Linked DNA regions of Homo sapiens: region 1 is linked to region 2. The links are contacts of gene promoters, found by promoter capture Hi-C in blood cells and fetal thymus (Javierre and others, 2016). All regions are on one chromosome and are shown on one strand. The core of a region is centred on a gene start or on the middle of the fragment in contact, and the rest is flanking DNA. Distances in the headings are between cores, read along the strand shown. Region 1 overlaps TRIM22 (tripartite motif containing 22). Region 2 holds the start of C11orf58 (chromosome 11 open reading frame 58).

The links. The method cuts DNA at HindIII sites, captures the fragments that hold promoters and counts their contacts. A CHiCAGO score of 5 or more calls a contact.
Region 1: a contact is called between a fragment that was not itself captured here and the fragment with the promoter of C11orf58 in region 2, in 1 of 17 cell types (M0 macrophages). The highest score is 6.8, in M0 macrophages.

Annotation. Positions count from the first base shown.
Region 1 is chr11:5,691,160-5,697,531 of GRCh38, reverse strand. It overlaps TRIM22 (tripartite motif containing 22), which reads right to left. Exons shown (of 8, transcript NM_006074.5): 2 at 877-1,365; 3 at 189-284. The coding sequence starts at 1,299. It overlaps LOC124902620 (a long non-coding RNA gene), which reads left to right and starts at 4,778. Exons shown (of 2, transcript XR_007062561.1): 1 at 4,778-6,372. The HindIII fragment of the contact is 3,669 bases long and covers 630-4,298 here.
Region 2 is chr11:16,734,788-16,740,625 of GRCh38, reverse strand. It overlaps C11orf58 (chromosome 11 open reading frame 58), which reads right to left and starts at 1,979. Exons shown (of 5, transcript NM_014267.6): 1 at 1,785-1,979. The coding sequence starts at 1,847. It also overlaps a transcript of SOX6 not described here. RefSeq lists an enhancer at 1,476-2,105. The HindIII fragment of the contact is 4,072 bases long and covers 1-3,070 here.

The DNA.
Region 1 (6,372 bases), core at 1,215-3,714, about 11 Mb after region 2:
GATTTATGATATGTCTACTCTCCAGCCCCTAAACTCCAACAGGGAAGGAGTTAAATTGAGACCTAATCAAATGACTTCTATGCTTGTTAATTCTAGCACAGCAAAGAGGAAGGGGTCTCCTTGTGATAGAGCCCAGGGTCCTGCCCAGATTCCTGTCTAATTATCCCTTAGGAGGTGTCTCCTCCTGCCTTCCAGGCGGTTCTCTCTTGTCTGATGTCATCTTCCAGCTTCTCAGCCTCTTGATCCTCCTTTATCAGCCTCTGCAGGGCTACCTGCAGCTTTTCCTGTAAGAAATAAATTATACCAGAGTAAAGTTATGAGCTTTCTCAGCACCTGAATAGAGGACAGCAAGGAAGAAATTGGATGGCTCTCAGAAGAAACTAGTTTACAGAAACAGTGAGGCTGGTGATTAGAACCTATGGCATGGGGGAAAATCTGAGGAGATGAATGTATTCTTTATTCCTGGATGATGGAAGTCACCATCCTCTTATCAAGAGTAGCCTGATTCTTTTCCTAGAGAAAAAGCAGACCCTGCAGTAAGGAAAGACGTCCTTTCATTGCCACTCTTCCCACATCTAACCAGACGTGTTCCCAAAAATACTGTTCTTCTTGGAGGGGCAATGAAAGCTTATCTTACAAAGCAATTCTCCATTCATTCAACTTTTCCTTGCTAAAAATTTGTACTCTTTTTTAAATAAAACAATGTGCAGCAGTGTCCTTCAGGCATCAGAAACTAAGCAAAGAGTATGGAAAGAGATCACAGGGCTCTCCGTTCTATGGTGACAAGGGGAATAAAGCAGGACAAAAAAAGTGGAGATTTCACATTAGGTACCATCTTCTGCTCTCTGCTCTCTCTTCCTCTATCTTGGAGCCTACCTGACATTCCTTGACCACCTCGTTTATGCGGAATGTTTGGTGACCTTGGTGTTCCTGAGACAGTTCACAAACCCAGCAAATGACTTTTCCATCCTCCTTACAGAAGATCTGGAGTTTTTTTCCATGGTGCTCACAGACATCTCTCTTCTGCCCCTCCTGTGGGCTCATCTTGACCTCTTTGACTCTCTCAACTATGTTGGCCAGATGCCGATTAGGTCGGAGGTTCCCAGGCTGGAATCTGGTCTGACACACAGGACAGCTGCTTTCCCCTCTTGAGATGATCACTGACTCCTTGATCTTTGCAGTGATGCAGGCTTGGCAGAAGCTGTGGCCACAATCTAGGCTCAGAGGTTCTGTCAGGAGCTCCAGGCAGATGGGGCAGGTCACCTCCTTCTCTATGTCTACCTTTACTGAGAAATCCATTGCACTGCTCCCTTGGCTTCCTTCTGTCTTGACTCTTGAAGTTCTTGGTCACAAACTCCTGCAGTGCTGAGAATGTTGAAGGGGACAGGGTAAGAAAAGAAGGAATAGAAAGAATACTGCTTTTACAGAGATTTAGAACAGGACAAAACATTAATATTTAACAGAGAAAGGAGAAAAGAAAGGCATGAAGAATAAACCAATGACAGAATAAAATGGACTTTGTAGTAATTTCAAACACTTTATTCTTAATTTTTGTCTCAGGACAAATTTCACCCCATCAAGGCAATTATTGTTATTTTCTCTTCTACTGGAGAGGACAAACTGAGGCTCTTCTACCAAGAGCTTCGTGTAACCCATCATTTGTCCTGCCTTTTGTTCCCCAACCCAAAACACATTTTCCATGTTAAATGCACTAAACACACCCCTGCCCCTGGGCTTGCACACAGGCTTTTCTCTCTGAATGGCATGATTGTATCCCCAATATTTGCATGATTCATGAATATTTGCATATTTTTAAGCTATTGAATTGTATTTACATAGCATCAAACACTGCATCAAACATCATTTTTAAGTGTATCATGCAATAATTTCTAGTAAATCTGTGGAACTATATAACTATTACTGTAACCCAATTTAAAATTATTTTTATCACCTGAAAAAAAAAAACCCTAATGCCATCACTCCTATTCTGATCCCAAGCTCCAGGCAACCACTACTAATATCCTTTGGGTTTTTAATCAGTTGATAAAAATAGAATCATAATATATGTCTTTGGTGTCTGAATTATTTTACTTATACTGTTAAGGTTTATCTCCTCTGACTTTTTTCCCCATGTAAAAAATACCTCCTCAATTAAACTATCAAATCTATGGCTCCTCAAGGCTTTTGCACTTGCTCCTCTCTCTGCATAAAATGATCCTCCCCCTGATGTTAGCAAGACTCACTCTTACATTTAATTCAGTCTCCTCTTAGAAGTCCTCTTCTTAGAAGGACATACTATAATTTACTTATAGCAAAACCACCAGTACTGTCACTCACTGCACATTTAGCTTCTTATTTTTACTATGTAATATATAAGATTGTTCTTTAAATGTCTACTTCTTCCTCCTGAAAAGTAATCCATTCATAGACCTGGGACTTTTTTTGTTCACTGATATGTCCTCTATACCTAGAAAAGTGAATCACATACAGGAATAAAACATTTAACGAATATATAAAGCCACAACTTCCTTATCCCTCCATAGATGATTAGACCTTTTAATCAGATTTTCATCTTTTCTTTCCATCAATTAGCAGTTTCCCAATAGCTGACCTTTGGGACCACAATTATGGTTTCCAGTGAAGAAGTGTTTACATCCTAACACATCTACCCATAGCAAGTCCTCCCATGACCTCACACTCCATCCCCAAAGACATACACACACACCCACACACCACCACCACCAACACCATAATAGGAAAATAATTTTATCATGAACAATTTTATAAGCAGTTACAATTTAGAAATCATTTTGACTTCTTTATTCTTCATACAAAACCCTTGAGAAATAAGAATACTCCCTTTCTTCAGGTGTGTCAATAGAATCAAGTGACTTACAAAGATCACTCATTCTAATCTAATAGGTAGAGTAAGAGTGAATGTATTGTCCCCAAGGTCCTCCTTCAGAGTTCTCTCCACTGCAGCACAGATTTATACAGACAACAAAGGTAAAGGCTACAAGAGCTATACTGATACCCAGTGCTATTGGGGGTATAGAAATGGAGAGATCCAGACCAGCTATGTAGTTCTGGGGCATGCTGTGGTTTTAAATGTTGAAATTTCACCTTGGCCTGGACATATGGCAAGGATGGTGATAGGAACCTAAAGATGTATATATTTTGGGAAGAGGAAAAGAGGCTAAAATAGTTATAGGATCACACACATGATATAGACTCAATATACATTTCAAAGAAACATCTGTTGGTCATGGGAGAAAAGTCTCAATCCATAAAGGAGGCCAAGTACATTGAGAATATGTAGCAGAGAGATAAAGTCTGTCCTGTTTCTCCCCAAATGATGTTGAAATCCTAATGTGTGAATGTGCTCTTATTTGAAACTAGTATATTTAAATACTATTTAGTTACCATGTGCTCATTAGGGTAGACCCTTATCCAACATGACTGTGTCCTTATCAAAAAGGGACATTTATACACAAGGAATATGCCAGGGTGAAGAAGAAAGCAGAGATCAGGGTGATGCACCTATAAGCCAAGGAATGCTAAAGGTTTCCAGGAAACTATTAGAAGCTAGAAGAGAGGCATGGACCAGAGGCCTCCTTCATAGCCTTCAGAAGGAACCAGCCCTGTCAACACATTTTATCTTGGATAACTAGCCTCCAGAATTGTAAGGCAATATATTTCTGCTATTTAAGCCAACCACTTTTGGTACTTTTTCTATGACAGCTCTAGAAAACTAATACAAGTGCTTATTTTTCTTGATTTATTCATTCTTTTTTTTTTTTTTTTTTTTTTGAGACGGAGTCTCACTCTGTCACCCAGGCTGGAGTGCAGTGGTGCGATCTCGGCTCCTTGCCAGCTCCGCCTCTCGGGTTCACGCCATTCTCCTGCCTCAGCCTCCAAGTAGCTGGGACTACAGGCGCCCGCCACCACACCCGGGTGATTTTTTGGTGTCTTTTTAGTAGAGACGGGGTTTCACTGTGTTAGCCAGGATGGTCTCGATCTCCGGACCTCATGATCTGCCCGCCTCGGCCTCCCAAAGTGCTGGGATTACTGGCGTGAGCCACCGCGCCCGGCCTATTCATTCTTTATTCTAACATTGAAGAAATGTAGCCCCATTGAAACCCTTCCGACCTAAGACAGGTAGACAGACAGACACATAAACAAAATGCATGCTCCCCTTTGAAGGTGGTGCGAATGTAGAAGTTTCTATGACACGGTGAAGGCTAACTAGGTCCGTAGCTTCCTTGTTTCAGAATACTCTGATTACCTGCACAGAAGCTTTCTTTATCTGTGCAATTTAAATCAAAAAAAAAAAAAAAAAAAAGATGGCCAGGCGCTGTGGCTCAAGCCTGTAATCCCAGCAGTTTGGGGGGCCGAGGCGGGCAGATTACCTGAGGTCAGGAGTTTGAGGCCAGCCTGGCCACTATGGTGAGACCCCGTATCTACTAAAAAATATATATATATACAAACATTAGCCAGGTGTGACAGCAGTTGCTTGTAGTCCCCGCTACTCTGGAGGCTGAGGCAGGAGAATCACTTGAACCCAGGAGGCGGAGGTTGCAGTGAGCTGAGATCACACCACTGCACTCCAGCCTGGCAACAGAGCAAGACTCCGTCAAAAGAAAAAAAAAAAAAAAGATTAAATTAAATTAGTGTGGCTACACAATAAGGAGAAAAATTATAAGGGGTTTAGCCATCAATATCTTTTTTTTTTTTTTTTGAGACAAGGTCTCACTGCGTTGCCCAGGCTGGTCTCAAACTCCTCAACTCAAGCAGTCCTCCAGTCTTGGCTTCCCAAAGTGCTGGGATTTTTGGCTAGGCTTTGGCACAAGCCACCAGGTGCCTGGCCTAGCCAACATCTTTTAAATTTCCCCTGTTCCTTGGGTCAGGAACTACCAATGGAGAAAATAGGTCCTGTTCTTGGCATGCAGAAACCTGGAGAACTCAGAAACACCGTTACCACTTCTTATTTGTCTAAACTCAGAGTTCCTTTTTCAATGACCCACTAAAATGTCCAGGGTTTAGTTTTCCCCAAGTAATGACCCTTTTTCCAAGAGTTCTAACTCTCTGGTCAATATGTTTCAGATAAGTCATTTTGTAACAGAGGACAGATTTCATAAAGCTACCCCAGTGTCATCTCTTTCTCTCACAGTTAGTTCATCAGTTCTTAAATCCATCATTTTATTGAAGACTGCTCAAAATCATTGTCTCACAGTGAGACCTAATGTGAAATCTATTTAAAGTTGCAAAGCCCTTGACAAGAGCACTACAGATACCACATCCTATTGCAGCCCTTTTAGTTTGTTGCTTTTGTTTTATTGGTTTTACATTTATCCTCTAGTAACTGCTACCTTTTTGCTACATTAAAACTGCTGGTTTACTTCCTTTTTTTGACTGCGTGTTTACTTCCTTTTCCCTAGTCCAGAGCATAATCTCTTACCGGTATTTAATGTTGATTATATATCGAATAGATAGTTTTTTTGTTTTTGTTTTTGTTTTTTTACTATACCTGTATGCTTTTGTTTTGTGAATTTAGTCAAAAATATTTTTCAAAAATTAAAAGTACAGTTTTATTTATTGGGTCCTGTACTAGACTTGACAATGAATAAATACTAGATATGGACCTTGACAAGATGTGCGGTACAGACACATAAGGAGACAGTTACCTGGACCTCTGAAAAGTGAAACAAAGAAAAGGACACATCAGAATATGGGTGACATAGGCATCAAGGTACAAAATGCTCAGCGATAAGATCGAGATAAGACTCAGGAGAAATTACCAACTCCTTGCCTTAGCTCTGTGCAAGGGAAAATTGAGTAGGGAGTTGAGGTAACTCATGATGAAAAGGTGTACCTAGAATAATAGCAACTTCTAAAACAGGAGTGGATACCAGAGGTTCATTGGGTGCTACAGAAGTTGAGGGAGGAGACCACCTCTCATATTGTCTTATGCCCAATTTCTGCCTCCAAAGAAAGAAAAAGTAAAAACTAAAAGGCAGAAATGAAATCCACAAGCAGACAGCCCGGGGCCACACCCTGGACCTGGTAGTTAAAGATGGACCCCTGACCTAATTGGTTTGTTATCTATAGATTCCAGACATTGTATAGAAAAGCACTGTGAAAATCCCTACTCTGTTTTGTTCCGATCTAATTACCGGTGTATGCAGCCCCCAGTCACGTACCCCCTGCTTGCTCAATCGATCACGACCCTCTCACGCGGACCCCCTTAGAGTTGTGAGCCCTTAAAAGGGACAGGAATTGCTCACTCGAGGAGCTCGGCTCTTGAGACAGGAGTCTTGCCTATGCCCCTGGCCGAATAAACCCCTTCCTTCTTTACCTCGGTGTCTGAGGAGT
Region 2 (5,838 bases), core at 730-3,229:
ATGTGGCAAAATCTGGTCTCTACTAAAAATACAAAAAATTAGTCGGGTGTAATGGTGCACACCTGTAGTCCGAGCTACTGTAGTGGTGGTGGGGGAAGAGGGGGTTGAAGCAGGAGGATCACCTGAGCCAGGGAGGTGGAGGCTGCAGGGAGCACTGATCGATCGTGCCACTGCACTCCAGCCTGGGCGACAGAGACCCTGTCTCACCTGTCTCAAAACAAAAACAAAACCCAGGTACTTAAAGATACGCTTATATGATTGGGAAAGGTCTTCAAGGTCGTCTAGTTTAAACCGACCTCTTCCGAAGCTGTAAACTTAATGACTTAATCCCTTTAACTTTGTTAAATTTCATATCACCTGGAGTTTTCTGTCACGCTAAAAGATATTTCCAAACAGGTGTCTGATATCCTAGCAATCAAGTCACATTTAAAGATCAGGAGGAAAACAATGTAACAGCTTTTTAAGTGGCAGCCAGGTTACTCAAAAGTGTGGATCAATTCCTGACAAAACCTGAATTACCATATTAACAAGATCTAAAATCCAGTAGCAGAAATAACAGAGAGCAAGAATAAACTTCTCTAGGTGCCCATTCATCCCCAAATCTTTACTGATTGCTAATCTTTCTGCAGAGCTGAAGTCGATTCCTTTAAAGATCCTTAATATTCCGGTCCTCGCCCCACCTCCCATCAGAGGGGTAGGTCTTAACATTATCTCATTTGCTACAAAGTAGTATTCAGTGGGCTTTTAAAATTTTATGAAGAGCGTTGAAATGCACTATCGAAAAATTTAAAGCTCTATGTATTCAGAAATTGACAGTACTTTAAACAAAACCGAAAAAAAACCTAGATATCCCTTCATCTTCCTTAAAGATGACCTCTCCGCGCTCTCTCCAACAATTTTCCCCATCAACGTTGCCAAGACACTTATCCATTGTATGAAGGACCTAGTTTTACGTTTACTGGTTACCTACCGTTTCCATGACACTGGGCTAGGAGCTAGGACAAATATACAAAAAGGCCTAAAATAAGCATCATATTTCTCTCCGAATTCCCAACACCCGGCAGTGCAGTAAATATTTAACGGGTTACTTTAAGGGATAAACCGTTTGCTATTAAAACCTATGAGGTGAGGGCTGAGGAAGGGAACGGCATTTGATGGGGAGACGAGGTAAGAAGAACGAGGTATTAATATCCGACATCAAAATGGGCTTCTAGGTCTCAACGTCTTAGACCTCACCACCAGAGCCAGTACCAAATTACACCCGTGGCACAATTTTCGGCTCAATACTGTTCTCGGTTTACCCTTACTAGTGCAGCTAAAGTTAACTCTCAACAGCACATTGTAAAAATCATCCAGGCAGGAAAAATCTGTACAAACGTGCACGAACATTTCGACATTGTCACGGGAACATTTAGAACCCAAAACAGGGAGAGTCTTGCCGTCTCTATACTGAGTACAAAGGCCCGAGAAAGCACTCTCATCGGCCCCCCAAAACGCACGTACGAAATCCCTTGACTAAGCTCTTTCACTCCTCGACCCTCTCAGAATTTCCTTCCTCAATCCCCCTTCCTACGCAGGTCTCCGGCTCTCAGCGTGTGGGCCTCTTCAAACCTTCTGACCCTCATAAAGATTAAGGGAGGCATTTCCCACTCATTCTTCTGGTTTCTTCCCTGGGCTCTCCCGCTGCAGGCCACCTCAGGCGCGTCCTCCTCCAACCACCCTTCCCGGCCTACTCCAGGCTTTAGTAGGCCTCAACCCTCAGCCACTCCGCCATTATTATTTACATCGTCGTCTGGGGAGGCTGAACGCTTCACCCCATGCGGGTGAGACTCTCTGGCAGCACTCATCCTTGCGGGGATCCCGACGAAAAATGCCGAACCCTCTCGCCGCTCTTCCCAGCCGCAAAACCAGCAGCTTACAATCCGCCAAGGGCCCAAGCAGCGCCACTACAGAACGCAGAGCCCCTCCGGGCCTTCTCTGCCACAGTCGTCACCGTTGCGGCCCCTCGCCGCCCCGGGGCACTTTGGGAGTTGTAGTTTTCTGATTCATTGCATACTGGCCCGAATAAAAAAGATGTGTCCGTGACTAAAACTACAATTCCCAGGAAGCCCCGAGGCTCAATTCGCGCTGTGTGGCGGGAGTGCCCTCAGAGGCCCCGCCTTCGGCTGGTGGAGGAAGCGTTCCCGCGGATGTGTATGGCGGTGAGCGTTGGCCGAGAGCTTTGTCGCCACAGGAGGAGGCTTAGAGGGGTTTTTGCCTTTCACCGTGCAACGCTGCCCTACTGGCAAATGTATCATCGTAGCTAGGCACCTATGTTTAAATGTAATGTTTGAGGCTGACTGAATCCTCACGAATACCCTCCACCCAGGACAAAAACCTTAACCAAAAATGGCTTCTACCATTTCCACCCTGGTGTTCTCTATTGCGCGCAGGGGATTTCTAGGTGGTCGGTGATGCTGCTTTCTAAATGTTTTCATGAATATTTCGCTGTTTTCCCATACAGAAATGAGTTCAGTATGTTGTTAAATGTTGGCTAATTGGCGGTTGTTGAAAACGGGGATTTAGCTGAGGGAAATCTGTTAAGTTTTCATATGGCTTTGTGTGAGGTGGGAGTGCTCCTCACTGACCTCGCTGTGGATGTCTGGGCACCGTTACAGTAGGGGCCTTCACCAAGCAAAGTCCATCCCTGCCACAAAAGCCTCTATTTTTTTTCTTTTTTAAAAAAAGTAATTATTGAGGTTAAATTCACATATAAAATTAACCATTTTTTAAAAAGTGTACAATCCACTGTCACTTAGTACATTCACAATCGTGTGCAGCTGTCACCTCTGATTCCAAGAAGTTTCACCACTCCAAAAGGAACCCCAATGCCCGTTAGCAATCCCTCCCCATTTCTCGCCCTCTCTCCAGATTCAAGTGATCACTCCTCTACTCAAAAAGCCCTGCATTTAAAGCTATTTATTGTTCAGATACTGAAGACTATCTCCTACTTTATTAAGGTGTCTGAATTTGTAACCAGGTCTGAACTTAACTTTCTGTCAGAATCCTTGTCCTTAATAATTCTGAAGCTTTCTCACCTTGAATACAAATGTGATTTTTTTTTTTTTTAAGCAAAAATTAGGCCTGGCGCCATGGCTCAGGCCTGTAATCCCCAGCATTTTGGGAGGCTGAGGCGGGTGGATCACGAGGTCAGGAGTTCGAGACCAGCCTGATCAACATGGTGAAACCACGTCTCTACTAAAAATACAAAAATTAGCCTGGCATGATGGCACATGCCTCTAATCCCAGCTACTCGGGAGGCTGAGGCAGGAGAATCGCTTGAACCCGGGAGGCGGAGGTTTCAGCGACCCAAGATGGCGCCACTGCACTCCAGCCTGGGTGACAGAACGAGACTCGGTCTCTAAATAAATAAATAAATAAATAATAAGTGGTATGGATAATACATATCTGCTGTTTCAGAACTGAGAGCAGTCTGTGAAACAATGCTTAGCTATTAGCTTTTGAACTCAGCAATTGCTCTAGTTTCACTGCCTGTGTACAAATATTACTTACCTAGATTTCAGATCCTCACTGAACTGTGACCAGTGGAAGGTAGTTTTTAAATTTATGCAGTCATAGATTCAAATTCTCCCTTATTTTGGAAGCAGAAAAATAGCATAATAGTAAGTACTATAATAGAAAAAGAGATGTCAGGGTTACATTTTATAAGTATAACCAAACAAAGAACATCTTAATGGTTCTGTGGTAAGAATAAATCATAAAGGAGGAGGAGAGTAAACCCAAGAGAAAAAAAAGAAACATTGTTTTAGGAAGTGGTTGATTGCTTTTTGCTAGAATTAAAATATTTTCACTACTACATAATTCTACTTAGGTTCTATTAGTTACAATGAAATTACATTTAAGTTACAGAGTTTTGCAGTTTCGACTACAGTTCACCTCTAATGGGTTTGACAAATGGTGATTTAGAACTATTAGCTATATTACCAAAACAAATAAGATGGCTGAATAGGTACTTTAGACTGCTAAAAGATTTCTGAAATAAGAAAGGATTGTCAATAAGAATAGTAGTTACTATATAATTTTAATTTTACTAGTTGGTGAAAGTCCAGAAAACTTTAATGAGCTAGCAACATGTCTTTTATTTCTTCACCAGAATTGTTGGCACCTGGATGGTAAATCTTCAAGTTACTGTGAAACAAGATCACAAACGAAAAAGTAACATAGGAAATACTAAAGACTGGGACATTTTATCAGATTTTACTCAGTTTCATATACAGAAGGCTATAGGTAAGGATGAAATTATACAGTGTAATAGAATGCATATATGCCACAGAAACTCAGTAATGCTCCTCTTTCTTGTATTGTAAAAACAAAGATACACTATCATGAGTGAAACAATGAAATACCTCCTTCAGAATTGGGACTGTTGCATCTGCATTTTTGTTTCTGGCGCAATGCCTGCCACACGGTAGTTAATAAATGTTTCTGAATTAATATAGGAAGGATGAAATTATATAGTACCAGAGTGGTATCTTATATGAGGCCTAGAAACTCAGCAATGTTCTTCTTTCTTGGGTAGTAAAGACAAGGAGAGGAGGCCCTGTCACTGAGAACTTTACATTTTTTTAAATTTTCCCAACATTTAGCATGTAGTGGGCAGTCACAGATGTTTGTCGAGTACGTGCTCTCAACCAGGGATAGTCATGATTGACCATAGTTAAAACTGAAGAGGAAATAAAGGCTTTGAAGATTATGCTGTGTACAAAAAATCTGCTGTTTCACTTGAGACTAAAAAAAAAAATTCCTAGGGCCTTAATTACAGTTACCATTTATTAAATACCCACCATGTACCATATACTTTGCTAGGTGCTTTTTATAGGTGATTTTTACAATTGACCTCAAAGTTTCACAATAATTTGCAAGAAGTAGGGAATTTTATAGGTAATTAAACTTAAGAAAAGTTAAATACTTGCTTAAAATAATGTAGCTAGTGAATGATTCAGTCCTTAAGTCTAATTCCAAAAGCCAGTGCACTTTCCACTGTGCCAATATAACCCAACATTAAATAAGATGCTTCATATATGTCAGGAAGTGTGCCAAGTTTGAGGAAAACCAGAGTGAATAATGCATAATCCTTTACTGCAAAGAGTTTACAGCTTGGCAGGAGAATGATTAAATGGCATCAGTAAATTACAAATAAAATGCTGTAGAACAGTTCATTTTGGCTGAGGGAAATTGGAAAATTATTTCCCAAAAGTTTTTGAGCTAGGCCTTGAAAAAACAGTTTGGGCAGGATGGGGCATATATTCAGTGATGGTTAGTGTCCAGTGTGCTGAAACCTGATAAGCCTAAAAGTATTGTATTCTGAGACAAAATTCTATAGGCTGATCAAAGCCGGGCTGTGAAAAGCCTTGAGTTTAACTCTCTCACTATATGGGTTCAGATTAAGATAATCTCTTCCATAGATCTGTGTGACCTGTTTTCTAATACTTCTCCATTTAAATTCATTTTATGCATTCTAGGCAGATTCAGCCTCTGAAAATGGAATGTAGAGATTCTACTGCTCAAAAACTTCTTGGAGCTCCCCATTTTATACAGAATTAAGTTGATAGAATTAAGCCTATAATTAAAATAAGAATTCAGTTCTTGAGGTCAGAATAAGGTCGATATTCTGATCTCAATAATCCATTCCAGTCTTATTTTCTACTATTATCTTTAACTTATCTTGATTAGCCCACCACAACAAAAATAAGTGCTATAATAAAGGTATTGAACAAAGATACTAGTCTTGTTGACTGTTCTAGACTCTCAGCTGCTTTTGGGTAGGATCTAAGCTTA